3 separate regions of the Homo sapiens genome follow, and regions 2 and 3 are each linked to region 1. Evidence: promoter capture Hi-C in 16 types of primary human blood cells and fetal thymus (Javierre and others, 2016). All regions are on one chromosome and are shown on one strand. The core of a region is centred on a gene start or on the middle of the fragment in contact, and the rest is flanking DNA. Distances in the headings are between cores, read along the strand shown. Region 1 holds the start of DYNC1LI2 (dynein cytoplasmic 1 light intermediate chain 2). Region 2 overlaps TK2 (thymidine kinase 2). Region 3 overlaps CMTM2 (CKLF like MARVEL transmembrane domain containing 2).

Region 1 (3,697 bases), core at 896-3,395:
GGAAGAGTGGTTGGGAGGGTGGGGAGGAGAGGGTGGTAAAGGCAGCAAATTCCAAGATCTAAAATGACATTCTACTGCAGTTATCCTTACTTCAAAAGGGAAATAATGAGGCAGGTCCACAGGCCCTATCTATAATTTATAAGACATGCATTCGGAGAAGTGAAAGTAAAAGGTAGGGTTAGTTTCTCACAAGAAAAAGTTTCACCACAAGAAAAACAAGAAATCTTCAAAATATGATACAATTAACCTAAAAGTCCAGGTACTGTGAACTAAAAAAAGTCTGATCCTGCTTCACAATGGTGAAGAATGGAAGTTATTCACTTTTGATTTTAGTACATCTCCTTCACAAACATTCTGAAGGCTAAGAAACTGACGAAAATAATTATAGACCTAGCAAAACTCTTCAGTACAATCTCAGTTAATTATTAAGCACTTCTTCATCTCCCTCCACCCAAACAACACCCCCCTTCCCCGGATCCTTAAACATCAAGGAGAACCATCGCCAAACATTACTAGGCACTTCTGCCATTTAATAATATGGAATTACAGAACATGAGAATTGAAAGGCAGTCAGTCCACAGATCAAAGACCTCCTCTCCATCTCCAATGCCTCTACCTTATTCAGGCCCTCTGCATCCAGACCAAGGTGAGGACCTGTCAGCCTGACTTCAGTACCTGCTCATTTTGAGCTACTGTCCCTCTGCAGGCAGCGTTCTTTCTAAAACTCAGATCTGGTGATCTTGATCCCCCACTTCTTGAAGATCTCTAAGGGTCCGGTATTACCTACCACAGTCAATTCCTGAGAAAGGTCACACATTCTAACAGTAGGAAAACTACCAAGGCAGTGATTCCCATGGGAATTGGGGGATGGAGGTGAGATAAAAGCCATTTGAAAAATCAGAGAACTTCAGGAAACAGCACTAACTCTTCAGCCTTCCCACAATCTGCCCCCAACTTACCTTAGCAGCCACCAACCACAAGGCGCTTCTAGCAGTTTCCAAACCCCACACCCTCTTGTCATCTGTGTCCCTGCATACTGACACTTTTCTGCAAAATACTCAACCCCCGAATCATCCTCCTTCACCAGCTCTAAGCAGTGTAATGCTTCCACAATAATCGGCATGGTGCAATGCAATCACCAATACATCTGTCTTCCACCAGACTGAGATTCTTCTATAGTGTTTAAGAGTCGCCTATGCTGAGCCTGTGCCCAGCCCACAGGTCCCAAGCAACAAATGGACTTGCTGTGTGAATGTACCCAAACTCCCTCACTTGAGGAGAGTGAGGCCAGAGGGAGTAAGGGACCTGACTCAGGTAACCTAGCAGTGAGGGCTAGCATAATGGAGGAAACGTCCCCAGTGCTGACTCTCTGTCCTCTGCAAAGTCCCTAAAACCTCGGACTATGCACTACTGATGAGGCTCAAAGAAGGCTCCCGTGGTCATTTCCCCACAGCTCCGAGCCCAGGTCACCTCGTTCTCCCACCTTCTCCACCTAATCTCATCTACTAGCTTCCCCTCTCCACGACCTCAATTTGGTAACCGTCGAGGCAATGAAGGCATAGAGGGCCAAGTGACTGAAACAATATGCCGACAACCCCAAAGCACCACTACGCTCTCCAAAGAGGGCAGCATCCCACCCTCAGGCGCTGGAGGCTTGACCACTCTCCAGCTGACCGGCCAGGGCCGACGGTCCCTTTCCCGCCAGGCTGCGGGCAGGCGGCTGGAACGGGGAAGGCGGGGACCTGAGGGAGGGGCGCCCGCCTCGCCCACCCCAGCGACCTGGGGCAACGCCCCGCCGCCGGCGCTCACCGAAGACCAGGATGTTCTTGCCGGACGGCAGCTTGGACCTGGCGCGGGTGGACACTTCGCTCAGAATGGAGGACCTGTGGCGACAATGGCAAGAGTGGTCAGCCCCGGGCCGGGCTGGGATGGCCCGGCTCGCGTCGGCCCCTCAGTGTGTCCGACGGTCCGGCCCAGAGGCCGCGCCCCCCACGGCCCGGCCCGACCGCCCGCGGCCTCACCATAGGCTCTGGCCTTCCTCCTCCTCACTGGTCAGGTCGCCGGCGGCCGCCACCGCGGGCCCGTTGGGACCTAGCAGCAGCTTCTTCTCCACCCCCACCGGCGCCATCTTGCCAACTGCAGCCACAAAGAGGGCCCTCCCCCGGGCCCGCCGAGGACCCGCGAGGACCCGGGCCGGGCCGCCCCCCGCTCGCCGTCCCTCGCGCCGCGCCGCCCGCCGACCTTGCCGCGGCGACTGCGCCGCCCAACGTGTCCTCTAGGTCTGCGATGGCCACGGGCTCCCACGGGTTGCGAGGCCGCCGAGGTGGCGGGCGGCGGTCAGGCAGCCGCCGGGGCAGCCATGCGCGGGGAGGCGGTGGCAGGGGCGGGCACCGTCCGGACCGAGGGCGCGCTGGCGGCCTCTGCCGGCTGAGGGGCGCAGCGCAGCACCCCGCCACGCTCGCCGATTCCCCTGCGCCGTCGCGGGTCGGGCAGCCGGATGACCGACCCGAAAGCCTAGGCTTTGGGAATGAGACTGATGGACACAAAAGCGCCATTTATCTAGAGCTCACCATGTGCCAGAGTCACACATTATCTCACTGAATCTTATCTAACCCTTTCACAGATGAGGAACCTGAAGCTCAAAAAATTTAAGAAACCCACCCAAGGACCCAAGGCTAGAAGATAACATTCGGTACTTCTAATTTATTCCCCAACCTTGGACCATTATATCATGAACTTGGCCTAACCCTACTCAAGCCCTGCATTGAAAGACTAGCCTTAAGGAAGACCCCAGAATCCTCATAAATATCCTGCATTTCCCCCTCCTCCTCCGAAGACTAAAGACTGTGAAGTAGTGCTCTTGACCGCAGTGCATAATACACTTGGCTTTGCTTTATTAACATGCTTTTTAAAATGATGTTTTCAGGGAGCCAGCATTTCACACCAGAAGAGGAGCCCTTAATTTCCTTGGGGGCCAGCTGGCAGGTGCAGAGCGGGGAGAAAAATAAAAGGAAAGGGGATGGAAAAGGGAAAGAGCGGAGAGTAACCGAAGGAAAAACATACATTCCATTATCAAGCTTAATTTTAGGTGTGGCCTCTACTTGAGGGCTCTTGCCATTCTCTATGGAAACAGGCTAACAAGACATTTCTAAATATCACAAGGAAGTGGAATGTGGCAGAAAAGCACCACCTAAGTAGGTTTCAGATGAGTAGGATTGTGATCCTGATGCCAAAAAATCTGGCGGCATGAATTACGGGATAAAACAAATGGGCATATCATCTGCCAAACTGGATGTAAGGTTTAAACAAGACGAGAGTGAAAACCCACTGAGTTCCTCCCTTGGAAATCTGGGAAAATCAGGCAAAGTGCCAGAAGTCCTAAAAGGGCAAGCAGTGCTGAATTTTCACAGGACAGAAGATGGAGATGAAAATTACAGGCCAGTGAGCTTAATCAGCACTAAGTGAAATTTTGTGATTAAACACTAAAGGAAAAGAGAATACCAGATTTACACAGTATCTTTCTTTTTTGCAGGAGTACCAGGTAGGCGGATGCTGCAGATACAGCAAATGCAGATTTCAACAGGGCATTTGACAATTCACATCTTAGATGCGAAAGTGAAATCAATGCTGGATGATAGCACTGAGGCTTATTAAAGACTAGCCCAGAGGTGGCTGATGAAGAGGAGGGACCAGCAGA
Region 2 (2,500 bases), core at 1-2,500, 220 kb before region 1:
TGGCTGTTTGTTACACCGCATTGCTATGGCAATGGATAACTGATACAACAGCGGGTACTCCATATCTGTCAATCGAATAAACAAGTTTCTATTTCATTTTGAAAAATTAGTGGTTTAATAAATTATCAACTATTCAAACTACAGTACCTTCTATACAGGTTTTCTACAAAAATGTATCTTGCGCTGTGAATCGACCTCTCCATCAACCGTACAGATGACACCTAAAGGAAAACAAAAAGAGAATCACTAACTCAGGGGAAAAGGAGACAGCCAGGAGGCCTTGAGAAATGTCTGTTACTCCCCCTGCCTGGGGACTTTGCTGAATATGAGAATCAAGGCGGCAGAGAGAGTGAAGCAGGAGGACCTCCTCACTCCCCTGCCGGGAGGAGAAGCCACATCTGCCACCAGGCTCAGGCTGTGTCCCCCTTCCACCCTGACCTGCCCCACACCCCAAAGCTGCATGCATGGCCCAGCAATGCCGAGGCTGAGGGCTCATCAGCAGCTGCCTCTTTGATGGCAGGTGAGTCTCAACTAGAACACGGTCAAGCCCTGGAGAAACCATCCAAAGCTGTCCACTTGAGGCAACATGTGGTGACTACCACGGACCTAAATAGGGTGAGTTTGCTTAAGCAGAGGGACCACATGCATGAGGTACAGCCCCAAGAGGGTCGGGTTGGGGGTGACGTTCTGGGGGCTCTGCCCAAGGAAACTGGTAAGAACGATGCCCAAGAGGGAGGAAGACAGCCTGACAGTGCCCCTTTCTGCCAGGATGCTCAAACCCTCTGCAGACGACCTTGCCCTTTGTCCAGCGTTCCTCTGGGAAGCAAGAGGCGCCCTGACCCTTGATGCCAGGCACACTAACACTACTCTCACTTGGCCATGGCCCACAGCACCCATGGGACCTGGGCCAACAAATCCAAGGCAGATTCAAAGCCATAACCCAGGCACTTCCTCCCTCTCCCTGCTGTCCCTCTGTCCATCCATCCTCTGCCCATCCATCTTCCTTTCCATTCTTCCATCCTCTCTTTCCTTACTTCCTAGCTCCCCATTCATCCCTCTGGTCTCCTTCTGCTCATCTTTCCTGGTCTGTCCATCTCTCTCTGCCTCCTGAGGTAGATTTCCTTAAATAGAGGAGTGCATTTATATCCCTTCCTATTCAAATATCATTAGATACAACTTAGGTTTGCAATTGAGTGCCTGCTCAGGAAAAGCAAATTAGCAAAGGCAAAATGCACTAACCTCAGATCTTTCGATTTGTGGATTTGTGCAATTTAGACAGATATTTGGGGAGATGGAAATTCTTATTCACCAAAAACGGCCCACTCACATCTTTCAATTTTAAAAGACAGACTTACAGAAGAATGGTAGCTATTGCTGCAGGTACCCAGACTGGGACCGAACTGTCCAGCCCAGCAGCTGTGCCAGTGTTAACTGGCTGTAGGGACAGTCTGTCTCCTTCATGCAGAGCCTTAAAGCTGGCATCATAGGTTGTGCTTACAGCTTTGAAACATAGGTGCTGATCAGGACCTCCACAGCCCCCTTTCTTCTAAGAGACTCTGTCTCTAGATGCATCCTCACTGATGGAATAGGCCTAAGCAGCCATGTTTGTGCCTTGGGGTCCTGTCCCCAACACCTGATTGAACCAGGGCTGGACACCTGACCAAAGCTGAACCAATCAGATTCTTTGTCTCAAGAATTTGAACTAAGAGCCAGACCCCATGAAGGTTAAATAAGTGGTTCTCAAATATGAAAACAAACAAAGCATGCATTCGAGTCACCTGGAGGGCTTGATAAAACACAGATTGCTGGGCCTCATCCCTAGAATTTCTAATTCAGCAGGTCTGGGATGTGACTAGAAAATTTGCATTTCTTTCTTTTTTTTTTTTTTTGAGACAGAGTCTCACTCTGTCACCCAGGCTGGAGTGCAGTGGTATGATCTCAGCTCACTGCAACCTCCGCCTCCTGGGTTCAAGCCATTCTCCTGCCTCAGCCTCCCAAGTGGCTGGGATTATAGGCACACACATACCACCACGCCAGACTAATTTTTGTATTTTTTAGTAGAGATGGGGTTTCACCATGTTGGCCAGGCTGGTCTTGAACTCCTGACCTCAGGTGATCCGCATGCCTCAGCCTCCCAAAGTGCTGGGATTACAGGTGGGATCCACCACACCCAGCTGAAAATGTGCATTTCTAACAAGTTTCCAGGTGATGCTTCCGCTGCTGGTCCAGGGACCACACTTTGAGAAGAACTGAGTTAAACGGCATTAAGCCCAGCAGTGGTCAGGTCATAAAGATGTGAGCTCAGAATGGTGGCAGGGGCACCACCTGGCTGGCTGAGGTTTGCAGGTGGGGGCACTAGAGGCAGGTCAGAAGAGAACCACAGAAGCCAGAGACCTTGGCCCCACACAGAGAGGCCTGCACAGCACTGAAGGCCTAGCCTGGCTTCCTTGTAAAGTTTCCCTTCCTGGCAATCACATACCCCAAGTCTGAAGAAAACGTT
Region 3 (3,697 bases), core at 533-3,032, 170 kb before region 1:
CAGCTCCACCTCCACCCGGGGCCAAACCCGAGGAAGACAAGAAGGACGGTAAGGAGCCATCGGACAAACCTCAAAAGGCGGTGCAGGACCATAAGGAGCCATCGGACAAACCTCAAAAGGCGGTGCAGCCCAAGCACGAAGTGGGCACGAGGAGGGGGTGTCGCCGCTACCGGTGGGAATTAAAAGACAGCAATAAAGAGTTCTGGCTCTTGGGGCACGCTGAGATCAAGATTCGGAGTTTGGTGAGCTAAACTGGTATCCCTGGGTGGGGGGCCTTGGCCGAGGGTGGGGGGAAGGAGGAGTAGGCTCCAGGGGTCCTCAGAGAGATGGTGAAAGGCCCTTGCTGCTGGCTCAGGTGTCTATGTCTCACTGCAGGGCTGCCTAATAGCTGCAATGATACTGTTGTCCTCACTCACCGTGCACCCCATCTTGAGGCTTATCATCACCATGGAGATATCCTTCTTCAGCTTCTTCATCTTACTGTACAGCTTTGCCATTCATAGATACATACCCTTCATCCTGTGGCCCATTTCTGTAAGTAAGGGGTGATGGGGAGTGCCTGCATCCAGAATGCTGATCAGGTGTGTCTTGGCACCTGGAAAGTCACCAAACAGAGAGACACACCTCACCTCCCATATCTGTGCCTGGGTCAGGGACTCAGAACATCAGTGGGGCCCAGGCAGAGGCAGCTGGGTGCAAGAGGGGTAGCTAGGCAGAAAATGCTCCAAAAAGCCTATCTGTGTGTTGGAGTGAGAGTGGGGAACTCTTACTTACCTGGTGGTCAAAGAGGGCCTGAGCCTTTGTTCTCTTTAGGGGAAGGGGAGGTGTAGCAACCAGCTGTTCCTCCGAACTCCTGTGCCAGCTCACACTTGACAGGAGATCACCCCAGAAGGACCCCATTCCCAAAATTCAAAGAAGAAAATTACTCTCCCATAAGTCAATAAAATAAAACAAAATGGGAATTTTTTTTAAAAATCACTTCTAAAGCAGCGTTAGGTCTCCAGTGAATATCCCTATAAAGGATGTTTGGATCAGAAGGATGTTCAGCCCAAAGCAGTCATCTAGTGGAAAGAGACAGAACTGGGCAAGTTACTAAACCATTCCCAGCCTGTTTCCTCATCTGTAACATGAGACAGTCACATTCCTTGCAGAACTGACATTCAATCCTGAGGATTAAATGTAAATTGCTTGACACCGTGCCTGAGGACTCATGGAATTGAATCCCTGCCCATCACCTGTTTAACCACAGGGCACAACCACCTAACCCCTTGCCAGTCAATGAAGACCCCAATTCCCAAGTCCCTTTGTTCATTGCACATTCACAGCCTGCCTCCAGAGCCCTCTTGTTCACTGTTTCACTCACGTTACACATGAGGAAATTGGCCTAGAATGGCCAAGTAACTTGCCCCCAGGTCACTCAGCTGGTAAGTAGCAGAAAAAAGCTTCAAACTTAGCTTTATGAGTACATTTCATCCTGCCTTCTTGTTAAAAACTATTAGGGTCCAGGGATCCAGAGGTCTTGGTGAAGCAGATGAGGACCTCCGATACAGGGAGAAAGGACAGGAGGGCCAAATAAGGACTCTCAGAAAAGGGACAAGCAGAGGACAAGGTAAAAGGACAGGCAGAGGACAAGTTCCTAAACAAGGAGCCTGAGAAGACATTTTTAGTTCCAGCAAGATGAAAAACCAATGAACCCTGAACATCTTCCCACTGTGCTTACCTAAAAATACCAGGGGAAATGTAACCAGTATTGCTTTAACTGAATGAATGAGCTGGCAAAAAAGAAATGAAAACACACAGGCGCCAGAAATGGCAAACAGGGCAGTGATCACATAAGCTACAAAGTATGAGTGGGAATGGTCCAAGAGGTATTGTCTCAGGAACCTACAGCCTGGATTTTCATGCACTCTCAAGTCAGGAAATAAGGCCTTGATCCTAAGCAAAGTGGGAATTTAGAACTGAAAACCCTGTATAAAGCCAGCGCCCTGGAAAGACTACCTCCTTAGGGAAAAGATGGACAAAGACACATACCCTTCTTATTCCCAACACAGAGGAATAAGAAAACATGTTCATCTCTGCCTGAGCTTTGAGTGGGCGGAGAGGAAGTCTTCCTTGAGAAATAGAAAGCTTAAGCCTGCCCTTTGTACAGATTGGAGTTTGAATTTTTGTTATCTGCAGCCTAGAAACCTTCATGCAGCCCAGAAACCTTCATCCCTGGGAATTACCATAAAAACTGATCCCAGTCTGATGACATTCTGCTGATATCCTTGGACTCCTGATAGAAACAAATGCAAAATCACAATCAAGGCATGAAGAGATTCTCACAGTGGGGGTGGGGGGAAAACCTTGTCAAAAATGAACTAATAATTCAAAACTACTAAACACCTGATTTTAAAAAATCCCCATTACTAAGAATCAACAAACACAACAAATGGATTAGAATCCTGAGAATATGAGATAATAGAAGAGCTGTCTGAAAATAATAATATATTTTAAGGGATTATAGACATAAGAGTCCTGAGAAAAGAGTAAGACACTATGAGGACAAAATAGACAGATTTTTAAAAAGTACAGTGTCTAGAATAGAAAATATAGTTATTGAAATAAAAATGTCAATAGATGAATTCAAAAACAGATCAGACATAGCTGAAGGAGGGAACTGTTAACTGAAAGGTATGGGGAAATTACCCAGAACACAGCACACAGAGAGAGAGAAAATAAGAGATTGAGACAGAACAATGAGTGAGAACATCCATCAGTGGTTGTTGGGCTGGGTGTGGTGGCTCACACCTGTAATCCCAGCACGTTGGGAGGCTGAGGTGGATGGGTCCCTTTGGTCCAGGAGTTTGAGACCAGACTGGACAACATAGGGAGACCCTGTCTCTACAAAAAAATTTAAAAATTAGCCAAGCATGGTGGCACATGCCTGTTGTTCCAGCTACTCAGGAGGCTGAGGTGGGAGGATGGCTTGAACCCAGGAGGTCAAGGCTACAGAGAGCTCTGATGGTGCCACTGCACTCCAATCTGAGTGACAGAGTGAGACCCTGTCTAAAAAATAATAAAAGAGGTGTCAAGAAGCCAGGCACAGTGATGTGTGCCTGTAGTCCCAGCTTCTCAGGAGGCTGAGGCAGGAGAATGGCATGAACCCGGGAGGCAGAGCTTGCAGTGAGCCGAGATCGTGCCACTGCACTCCAGCCTGGGCGACAGAGTGAGACTCCATCTCAAAAAATAAATAAATAAAATAAAATAAAATAGACATCTATCCAAACCTGCACAAATTGTATTTTAGGTGACACTTCAGGAGCATTTCCTTAGAGATGCTTACTAGCTTCTCTTGTATTCAACATTGTGATAGAGACCTTAGTTCAATATGACAAGAAAAACAAAAGGTATAGAGATTGACAAGAGGAAAAATCTAATAGAATTATCTACACAGAAAATCTAAGAGAATCTACAGTCAAATCACTAGAACTGATTGAGTTCCACAAGGTTACCAGACACAAAAGCAGTAGTGTTCCTGAATACCAACAATGAACAATGAGAAACATAGGATTTTTTTGGCTGGGCACGGGGGCTCACAGCTGTACTCCCAGCACTTTGGGAGGCCGAGGTGGGTGGACCACTTGAGGCCAGGAGTTCCAGACCAGCCTGGCCAACATGGTGAAACACCAGCTCTACTAAAAATACAAAAATTAAC

Evidence for each region. Contacts are between HindIII fragments. The CHiCAGO score rates a contact against its expected background, and 5 or more counts as called.
Region 2: a contact is called between a fragment that was not itself captured here and the fragment with the promoter of DYNC1LI2 in region 1, in 3 of 17 cell types (naive CD8 T cells, total CD8 T cells and fetal thymus). The highest score is 6.3, in naive CD8 T cells.
Region 3: a fragment that was not itself captured here is called in contact with the fragment with the promoter of DYNC1LI2 in region 1 in 7 of 17 cell types (activated CD4 T cells, naive CD4 T cells, naive CD8 T cells and 4 more); the score reaches 7.9 in activated CD4 T cells.

What each region holds. Positions count from the first base shown.
Region 1 is chr16:66,749,464-66,753,160 of GRCh38, forward strand. DYNC1LI2 (dynein cytoplasmic 1 light intermediate chain 2) reads right to left here and starts at 2,146. Exons shown (of 13, transcript NM_006141.3): 1 at 2,022-2,146; 2 at 1,810-1,883. The coding sequence starts at 2,128. DYNC1LI2-DT (DYNC1LI2 divergent transcript) reads left to right here and starts at 2,289. Exons shown (of 2, transcript NR_133569.1): 1 at 2,289-3,437; 2 at 3,533-3,697. RefSeq lists a silencer at 1,774-2,573 and an enhancer at 1,787-2,502. The HindIII fragment of the contact is 3,643 bases long and covers 1-3,075 here.
Region 2 is chr16:66,528,847-66,531,346 of GRCh38, forward strand. TK2 (thymidine kinase 2) reads right to left here. Exons shown (of 10, transcript NM_004614.5): 6 at 148-221. Among named protein-coding and RNA genes, the nearest start is that of TK2, 20 kb to the right of the region's middle. The HindIII fragment of the contact is 3,419 bases long and covers 1-2,500 here.
Region 3 is chr16:66,579,651-66,583,347 of GRCh38, forward strand. CMTM2 (CKLF like MARVEL transmembrane domain containing 2) reads left to right here. Exons shown (of 4, transcript NM_144673.3): 1 at 1-242; 2 at 376-534. Among named protein-coding and RNA genes, the nearest start is that of CMTM2, 2.0 kb to the left of the region's middle. The HindIII fragment of the contact is 685 bases long and covers 1,441-2,125 here.